Linked DNA regions of Homo sapiens: regions 2 and 3 are each linked to region 1. Evidence: promoter capture Hi-C in human tissues and cell types (Jung and others, 2019). All regions are on one chromosome and are shown on one strand. The core of a region is centred on a gene start or on the middle of the fragment in contact, and the rest is flanking DNA. Distances in the headings are between cores, read along the strand shown. Region 1 holds the start of F13A1 (coagulation factor XIII A chain). Region 2 overlaps LY86-AS1 (LY86 antisense RNA 1). Region 3 overlaps F13A1 (coagulation factor XIII A chain).

Region 1 (3,346 bases), core at 584-3,083:
CAGGAAAGTGATACATCTCATGTTAGACATGATGAGCGTGTGTTGTCACTGGGATGTGACAAATGAGGATAGCCAGTAGGCACTTAGATACGGGAATCTGCAATTCTGGAAAAGATCTTGGCTAAAGACCCAGATTTGGGAGGTGTCAGGATATAGATGGAATTTGAAAACTATGGGAGTTCCTCAGACAATCAAGGAATATTGCGCTGCACTGGAGGAAACCACAGAGTGTTCAATGTCAAGGAGGCCTAGGAAAAATACCTTCAAAGACAGAGTTCAATGCTTCCAAAAGGTCAGGTAAATAAGAACTGAATCCTGTCTTTTGGCCTGAGCACAGGCCTTGGAGACCGTGACCTCCACTTTCAGTAGAATGATGAGGCGGAAGCCAGATGGCAGATACTTAGTGATGAAGGGGAGGAGAGGAGGAGTAACAGCAGGAGTGGGGACATAGGTTGGGGGAGGTTTTTAAAAAAATACTGAAGAGACCTGAAATTGCATGAATGCTGAGAAGACCCACTATTAGCAAGCAGGAGCTTGAAGCTGCAAGAGGAAGAGTACGTAAGAGTCACAGCAAAGCCCCGGAGAACAAGGCAACGCAGAAGCCTGGTTTGGAGATGCAGAGGGAGGAGGGACCTTTCCAACTTCAGTAACAAGAAGAAAGAGGAAAAGATAGATAAGGTTGCAGGCAGGTTCATAGATTGGTAGCAGAAAATTGAGAGAATTTCTAACCAATGGCATCTTTTTTTTTCTTCTTTATAACATTGGGAGATTGAGTGGCAGGGTCAGAAATTTGAAGACAGTAAAGAAGGTTAGAAATAGCCATGTTTGACTGGGTGCGGTGGCTCACGCCTGTAATCCCAACACTTTGGGAAGCCAAGGAGGGTGGATCACCTGAGGTCAGAAGTTCGAGACCAGCCTGGCCAACATGGTAAAGCCCCATCTCTACTAAAAATACAAAAATTAGGCGGGCATGGTGGCATGCACCTGTAGTTCCAGCTACTTGGGAGGCTGAGGCAGAAGAATCACTTGAACCCGGGAGGTGGAGGTTGCACTCCAGCCTTTGCAACAGAGCAAGACTTCATCTGAAAGATAGAAAGATGAAAGAAAGAAAGAAAGAAAGAGTAAAAGAAAAAAATTAAAATTTTAGGGGGAAAATTTTCTAATTTTTGAACATGCACTAAAATGATTTTCAGAGAAAACCAAGTGTTATTTTCTAATCTGCATGGCATTATTAAAGATGTTTACTCATCTTCCTTGGGGCTAGGCATCCCATTCCTGCAGGAAGTCTTGTGGTTAGGCGGTGGCTGTGGCTCTGGGATGATTCAGGAATGCAGACCATGCCTTATTTGCACAGGAGGGACACGTTGCTCTCACTGCATGCATGGTCACAACTGTCTGTGTGACCTGTCTGTGGGAGGGCAGACCCCCCTCCTGCCAAGCCACAGTAGCAGCTGACCTGCCAGGCAAAAGCATTCCTTTGTAAAGGAAACCCTCCCAGACCCTCTGACCAAAGGGGACGGGTGGGGACTTCCTGGCACTGCAGGGCCCCTTGCCTGGTACTCCCAGCAACTGGTTGCGGTGGGGAGGGCAGATCTAGGGATGGGGATGGGGAGGAGAAGTGGGAATGGGAAATTGGGAGTCAGAGGGGCAAGTGGGAGAGAAGGGCGCACCTGCCGGGATAACAGGCCAGATGAAGTAAATAGAAAATCCTCTGAGCTCCCCTACTGGCTCCAGCTGTGGAGAAGGGGGAGGAGAAAACCCTGTGGGACAGGGGAGGAGGGTGAGGGCTCCTCTTAGGAAGTTATTTAAGAGCCAACTGTCTTGTCTTTCCCGAGTCCGTTTGAGGAAGTCCCCGAGGCGCACAGAGCAAGCCCACGCGAGGGCACCTCTGGAGGGGAGCGCCTGCAGGTAAGCCACCGACCCTGCACCCTATGAGCCAGGGCCCGCTGCGTCCACCTTCTGCACCTCGGTTTCCTGGTTGAACCAGCAAGCGGCTTGCTCTGGGCCCTGTGGCGCCGGTCACAGGCAGCTCCACTTGCCCAATCCTGGCTTCCCGCCCCCAACTCCGCACCTGCCCAGCCCAGCTTCTAAGCGGGACTTCTCTCAGGCTCTCGAGGCAGCTCTCCCGAAGCCGTTGCTTGCTTAGAATGCCACCAAATGGGGATGGGGGAGTTGGAGGTGCTTCCCCAAGGGACGAGCCCCCTTTCCTCAGGGAGCAGATTATGGAGCTGGAACACAAAAGGTGGAGGGAGTGGGGCCAAGTGAGAACAGCCTGCTAGACTGGAACCCCGCCGGCTTGGCTCCCCACTCCTGCGCGCCTCCCCACTCCTGCGCATCGCCTGCCTCCGTCCCAATTTGGAGCTGAACTCGAGCCACTTCTCCTCCTTAGACCCGCCCAGAAGCGAGGGCTCCTGCCCGCCGCACTCACCCAGCCAGGCGTGCACCTGGGGCTCCCCCCTTCTCCCCCTTAGCACTGTGTCTCCCGACAGCGCGCCACACTGTTCTGCACCCCTGGCAATGCCGCAGCCTACCTTCGGTATTTCTCACTAGAGGATGGCTCTCGCAGCCTTCTCCCTATCATTAACCCTTTTTCGCTCTTCTCCCTCCCTTCCCCCGTCAGCTCACCAATGACTGTAAATATATTTATCTATACTTATGGATACCCATTCACACCTTATGCATCCAAACACTCCTGTCTCCTTCTCAGACCAGACACCTTAGGCGTGGTTGTCTTTTCTCCAGCATGTTGTTAGTGCTCCACATGTCTCTGGAACCATCTCTCTACTCTGGTGGCCTCTATAATGGGGACTCTTCACCTCTTGGGGGTGTGCCTGGTTTTTGAAAATAGCCAAGTCTCCAGGAGTCATGACTGGGTAATCCAGGGGATCAAGGGGGAACCTTCACTGGGCCCAGAAACAAAGTCCCCCTTCATTTGGTCATTTGGTCAACAAGTACTTACTGGGCACTGACCGTCAGGTGTGTGTTGTTTAAACTGGCTCAGTGCCTGCACAAGCTCCAAGGGAAGGGGAAGCAGGCTTGGGGAATGGGAAATGTTGGCAACCCTGACTTCTTAAGCCTATTGATAGCCCTATTGAAAATTGCATGCCCAACCTCTCCACCTCCTTATCCTCCTCCATGTGGCTCAATTTCCAAAGCAGTTCCTACCTCCTCACCCCTAAGTGGATTTACTTATGGCTCTTCTTGGGCTCCACCCTAACCCTATCAGACTATAATCTATCAGAGCAAACATTCTGTTTTGTTCTCTGATGTATCCCATGTACCTAGATCACAGCCTGGCATGTCATAGGCCCTCAATAAATATTGGTTGAATTAAATTGCAAATGTA
Region 2 (3,346 bases), core at 331-2,830, 98 kb before region 1:
GCAGACAAGGATGCTGTTTGAGGCCTTTGGTAGGCACCTATAGAAGAATCACAGGGCAGGCCTTTAAGATTTTGGAGCAAGGCCCTTCCACCATCTGCAGGTAACTGCTCTCCTTTTGAAAGTCAGTTCTTGGGTTGTCACTGGGTCATAAAAGAAACTGAACACTTAGCCATGGGCCACCAAGTTACCATGAGACCTGAGCTGCTCATCATGAACTGGGTGTTATCTAACCCAGCAAGCCACAAAGTTGGGTGTGCATGTGTGAGGGTAGGGGGTATATGGAAAATCTTCGTACCTTCCACTCAATTTTGCTGTGAAGCTAAAGCTGCTCTAAAAAATATTCTATTTTATAAAAAGCCAAATAAAATATTTGAAAAATTTAAAAAAGTGGTGAATTCACATCTGTGACTTCTAAGGGGTAAAAAATACAAAGTTTAGTGGAAGCAAATTCTTAACAATGACAATAAGCCTTATTTTTTAAAACTGCTTAATTCCATCTGTTGGCTATTCAAGGTCTTAGGATATACTCTGCCACTAGCTTAATCAGGCCTTGACCTTCTGAAACACATTTATACAGATATCTGTGGTTCAAGTTTCTTCCTCTAATAGTCTAGATTAGAATCCTCTTAGAATGTTCTTTCTAAGAAATAGATCTAATTTTTAAGCAATATTCTACATTTTAAAATCCCTCAGAGGAGACATCATAATTAGCTTAATATAGGTTACAGATGGTTACATAAAGCAATAGTTATAGATATATGCATATAAGAAGGTTAGTGTGCACACATATATACCCTTGCTCTGTCAGCTGAGAGGTCTAGAAGAAGGGCTGTGGGTATACCCCAGTAGCAGTGAGCACACCTAGTGCCCAGATCTTGTTTTCTAATATTAATAGTCTTCAATAAAAGAAACCAGGGCTCCTCAGGGAAATAATAATTCTAGGACCGGGACAGGAAATAGACAAGATGAACTTGAAATATCTTGTAGCTCTAGAAAGTAATGGAAGTATTTTTTTTAAGCCATAATATCGCAAGGTTTGGGGTGGGTGGGAGAAGGGTGTCAAAGAGACACAGGAGTGAATTAAAAGAGCTCCCAGTGGCCAAAACTTTATTTTGAGCAACAAAGTAAAGTAGTATGGAATATAAACTAAAGCATAAAGTAAATATTGATGAGTGCATACTAGTATAAATAAATTATTGATTGAATAAATAAATAACTGGAGAAAAACAGACACATGTCCCATGCAGAATTAATTTAGGTAGATACTCTCCCCTCAAGAAAGGTAAGCATAGTTCTCCACTCTTTAAGTGCAGGCTGCACACGGTAAGTTCCTTCCAAAGAGCATGGCGTGCATTGGAGAAGCCTGACAAACACTACCCTGTCAGGTGATGAAGGCCAATGTCAACAGTGAAAAGACATTGATATCATGTATCCTTGTTGTAGTAGGATGACAATGGCATCTTGCCTCCATGGTCTTCCTCTCTTAAATCCACAATTCCAGCCTAATCACAAGACAGATGTCAGAAAAATCCTGGTTGAAGGATATTCTACAAAACGGTTGACCGGTACTTTTCAAAACTGTCAAGGTCATCAAAAAACAAGGAAACTCTGAGAAACGGTCACAGCCAAGAGGAACCTAAGGAGATAAGAGGACTAAATATAATGGGGTATCCTGGATGGGATCCTGGTGCAGAAAAAGGACTTTAAGTAAAAACTAAGTATGAACTTCAGTTCATAATAATCTATCAATATTGGTTCATTAATTGCAACAAATGCATCATACTGAGGTAAGATAATAATAAGGGAGGGTCTGGTGCAATTACTTGCACCTGTAATCCCAGCACTTTCAGAGGTCAAGGCAAGAAGAAGGCTTGAGCTCAGGAGTTCAAGGCTGCATTTAGCCATGCTTGTGTCACTGCACTCTAGCCTGGGTGACAGAGGTAGACCCTCTCTTAAAATAAATAAATAATCATAAATATGTAAATAAATAGGGGGAAATGAATGTGTGGAGTATATGGAGGCTCTCTGTACTATCTTCTCAATTTTTTTCTGTAAATCTAAAACTATTTTAAAATGAAAAATGTTTATTTAAAAAATCACTCCAGAGACTGTGAAGTGCAGTCTCTTGGAGTCCATAGTGGGAGTGGTGGGTGGAGGGTCCCTAGGCATTTCTAAGCAGTTTAAATGGTTGCGAGTGTAAGGCGTTGTGAATGAATGGTCCACCTCCAGATGGAACTGAGTGCCTCTACACATGTGTGTGCACAGGTATGCAGGGTTCTGTGTGTCCAGCAATAGCTTCTATGCAGGAAAATGAGCAGGTTGTTCAAAGAATATTCTCTCTGCTTAATGAATTAAAAGAGAATGTGTTTTAGAAACACGCAATGTGCACTCACACACAAACACACGCACGCGTTAACAATGACTCTAGGGCAGCCTCATCCCTAGAGCTTTTCCTTTTAACTGCTCTGTCACCATCACAGATGGGTGATCATACCAGTCTTTTTTTCTCTACCAGAAAGTGACACTCCCTGACTCCCACCCTCTGTCCCTCCCCGCCACACCACACCCCACTCTGCTTTGTTCTTCTTTTCAAGGCCTTCTGGCATCACCTCAAAATAAACTAAAATCTCTTCAAACTGGATCCTTGAATAATTCCAGAGGGGAGAGGTTCTTTGTAAATTCTGTTTGCTTACGGATTCCGTACAGTGTTTGCAAATTCTACAGTGTGGGAAACCTCCAGACATATTTAAATCCCTTTTCCAATTACCCAGCTCCATCAAAGATGTCACTGACTTGAAGCAAAAATCCAAAAAGATTGTTTTCTTCAGAGCATGTGTAAAACTCCAGAATTTTTTTAAAAAGCTTGTTGCTTACAGGGTAGCATCACCTGGACATCAAGATGCGTAGCTTCTGGCAGTCCATTTTGTCCTATTGGCTACTGAAAATCAGAGCTGGAGGGGCCGGGCCCTGCTTCTGGCAAGTGGTCCAGTTTCCCAGCATGTGGAGGATTTAGAACAAATTGGAAAAGAACGTTTTAGAGCTGTGCCACCCACATTCAGCTTGGGTGCTCCCAGGAACCACAGCTTAGCAAGAGCTACAAGGAGTTCGTAACAGTTGTCGCTCCCACCTCCCGAAAGGCTCCTCAGTGTTAGAAATCTGATTACCTTGGGACCAGGTTTTTTCCCTGTTTGAGAAGAGCAAGGTGACAAATTGCTAAATATTAGGCCTGGGAAGCTTTGTTATCTTATTCCATGGCCCTTGGACTTTTGGGATTCTCACTTTGGAATGAAAATCTTGTGTTGCAGTTGCTCATAGCCAAAAGGGTCTTCTATTGCCTCTTGGAGCT
Region 3 (3,346 bases), core at 333-2,832, 78 kb after region 1:
AAAGTAGGAAAAGTTATGACAATCTGGACAGCCTGGGGCTATTGGAGTTTCCCAGGAGAAAGCAAGTCCAAAATCCTGTATTCTCATCATCTAGAGATTAGGCCTGAGATATTATAACCTTACATAAGCTAACTTTTGCTTAGGCTCCTTTAAATACTGAGTGGTGCATTTTACCAAGCTATACTGCAGATTGATTTAAGAGAGAAAAGAAAAAAAAGAGAAGCAATTAGAAAAAATGAAGAAACTTGCCCACAGTTATACTTCTCCCTTTAAATTGCATTGCTTGATTGCTGCTTTCTTTTCAATGCATTTCTGATGTGACAGTTCCCACCAGGAAAATTGCCAGAGAAAGCTAAGGAGAATGCTTAACTTTGTGCCATCCGAACACTTACTTCCCTCACATGGCATTAATAAAGCATTCTATTGCTAGCCCCAAGTTTCTGTGAATAAGCCAGACATGGACTCTGAGCCCTGAGTCAGACTATCAAAGAAGGTGGGCCGTGACATATTGTGACAAGGGCAGCATGGTTCTGGGGAAAAGGGAAGGCTGTGCAACCACCTGGCATTACTGCGGCGTGGTTACCTGTCTATGCCTGTTCCTGCCTCCCGACTGATAGGATCTGGCAGCAACTATGGGCAGAGAATTTCCCCCAAGGAGATGCAGCTGCTTCTGCAAAGGCTGCCGCTACTGCAGATAAAGGCTCGTTATTCACTGTGACACACCTACATGTACCACCTCCATCCATATTTGCTCCAGTGGGTCAAGGCATTACCAGTGGAGGATCTGTGTCGAAACACATGCTGAACCAGCGTGTGCAATGGGGAGGACTCTCCAAGAGTCTTCTGGGTGAGGAAGCAGAAGCCCTTGGAAGTGGTGTCCCTCACTCAAAGTCACACAGCAAATAAGTGGCTGAGCTGAAACCAGATATGGTCCTTACTCTCAGATCATATTACCTTAGAGGGCCACTATCAACACGTTATTGCCAATAACACAATAATTATGTAAGATTGAATTGCCATTTCCTAGAAAAGAAGAGAGCCCCAAGGGAATGGAGCCCAGATGAGGCAAATTATTGAAAATGGGGAATAAGTGAAGAAAGGTATCAATCAGAGGATTCTAAATAGCCATAGGCACTGGGGCCCTGGAGAATGAGCTTCCAAAGACGATCAGGTACCAAATATGATATGATAATGGTGGTGGTGTTTGGTGGTGGTGGTGATAGAGTTAGTGATGATGGTGGTGGTGACGGTGGTGGTGATAGTGATTGTGATAATAATGGTGGTGATGGTAGGGTGATTATGGTGGTGATAGTGATGATGATGGTGATGGTGGTGGTGGAGATGGTGACGGTGATGGTGGTGGTGATGGTAGGAGTGATGGTGGTGGGAGTGATGGTGGTAGTGGTGGTGATGGCGTAATGTGGTGGTGGTGGTGATTTATGATGGTGGTGATAGTGGTAGTGGTGGTGGTGATGGTGGTAAAACACTCAGTATTTACTCATTTGTTTGACAAATGTTTATGGCAATCTACCAGTCTGAACACTGGAGTACAATTGTGAACAAAATTAAGTTTCTGCCTTCACAAAGCTTACAGTCTAACAGAGAACACAGACTAGTAAATAGAAAATTTTAGCTCAGCATGGCAAATTCTGTGATGGAAATAAGCATAGGGTTGTATGGGAAAGCAAATCTCTCAAATGTAGCTCAAAGGTTTCCCAGGACTAAACATTGGATCAAAAGATAGAAGAATGTCTGAGGTCCCACAGTAATTAACCATGCTATTATTTGAAGAAACCCTTTCTCCATGGTGGAAATTATATACAAACAGCTAGTCACCAAAAGCACTGAAGAAAAATGTAGTAGAGGGTTATTTGCTCTTCTGGGGGCTTGTTTGTTTTGCAATTCAGAAAACTAAGGTTGACACAACTGAAGTTTATTCCATAGGATCTCAACATTTACAGTTACTTGATCCATGGTATTCTGATTCAGTTGTAGTAAGAAAAAAGGTAATATTAATGAGAAAATTAGGAAAGTAGGAGGAGAGAAAAAAACGTCAATATAGTTACATATTTTTAAATTTCAGTGTTTGTACTGCTGCCATCCTGGACTATCCAGCTTCCCTTGAGATGTATGCATTTATTTTTAACCCTGGCCTTTTGCTAATATCGAACCACAATGCCATCATTAATCCCCATTAATACTTTGCTCTGACTATGCCTTTTGGGAACTAACTCATGACTAAACTTTTTTAACCAATCGATGTTCGATGTACTCTTTAGCATTGTAAAAAAATCTTGAACTTCAGCTAGTAAATCAAACTGACCACAATTCGGAGTAGGTCCTGGATTTTTCTAGGACACAGTACAAGATGAATGACTGTAGACCTTTGAGATGAAATGGACTTTAGTGCTTCTGATCCTCATGCATCTGTGATCCTACAGATAAACAGAAAATAAAGTTATTTTCCCTTTGTCCATCTTTTCCTCCCCCTCTTTTTGTCCCAGTATTTAGAAAGATTTTTTTCTTTCCATGCATGAAAAAGACAGTAATGACATAACTACTTTTATATCTTGCCAAGCAGCTCCTCAAGGGGTTAACTATAAAACCATGTTTTGTTCATTTTCTTTCAATTGTTTACTTGGTCATCTTATAGGAAGCTTCACGTTGAGCAAACCTCTTCATGCAACAAACCTTAATTATAAATATTCAGATTACATTTAAAAGTTCACTTTGATTAGAAATTTCACACCTGAGTCATCCCAAATGAACTGTAAAGACAGAAATAAATATATAAAGTTTGTATTTATTTCTAAAGTTTATTCCTTGATCATACAGACCAGTCACAAGGTACTTTCGTAACAGTTTTATTAAGAAAAATTTTAATTACAAAGCAATATCTAACCCATCCTTTGGTTTATAAAGCAGCTTAAACCTCTTTTTTTGGAGTGAACGGTCGTAGATACATCTGAGGACCCAGGTGCTCAATGGGCATTGTCCTTGGCATTTCTAAATCACCAAGGAACTTTTTCACATTTACCCATATGGATTTTAATTTTTGAAAAAGTTCATCTATCAAAACAAATCATGATTATGTAATAATACCTTGTTACCCCATTCTTGTGTCAGATTTATATAACTGCCAATGGGAACTTCTAATGATGGTGGCGGTGGTGGTAATCATCTCTACCAGATAATGAGTATGACCACACTGAATATGATTCGGTGTCACTTTGTGGGGGTAAAGATACAACTTCCATCTGGTCTTTTATAAAAGCGACAACAGCCTACCTGCATTACTAACCCACAGATGCCTAGAGGTCAAAATTCCCCAGGTGGTGACCACTGC

Evidence for each region. Contacts are between HindIII fragments. The study calls those that stand out against the background at their distance.
Region 2: a contact is called between a fragment that was not itself captured here and the fragment with the promoter of F13A1 in region 1, in 6 of the 25 tissues and cell types used here (aorta, dorsolateral prefrontal cortex, hippocampus and 3 more).
Region 3: a fragment that was not itself captured here is called in contact with the fragment with the promoter of F13A1 in region 1 in 3 of the 25 tissues and cell types used here (mesenchymal stem cells, mesendoderm cells and ovary).

The regions. Positions count from the first base shown.
Region 1 is chr6:6,319,149-6,322,494 of GRCh38, reverse strand. F13A1 (coagulation factor XIII A chain) reads left to right here and starts at 1,833. Exons shown (of 15, transcript NM_000129.4): 1 at 1,833-1,908. The region is part of intron 1 of LOC124901253 (a long non-coding RNA gene); the gene reads right to left. The HindIII fragment of the contact is 8,313 bases long and covers 1-3,346 here.
Region 2 is chr6:6,416,863-6,420,208 of GRCh38, reverse strand. The region is part of intron 4 of LY86-AS1 (LY86 antisense RNA 1); the gene reads left to right. Among named protein-coding and RNA genes, the nearest start is that of F13A1, 98 kb to the right of the region's middle. The HindIII fragment of the contact is 7,946 bases long and covers 1-3,346 here.
Region 3 is chr6:6,241,231-6,244,576 of GRCh38, reverse strand. All of the region lies in intron 6 of F13A1 (coagulation factor XIII A chain), which reads left to right. Among named protein-coding and RNA genes, the nearest start is that of MIR7853, 73 kb to the right of the region's middle. The HindIII fragment of the contact is 3,808 bases long and covers 1-3,346 here.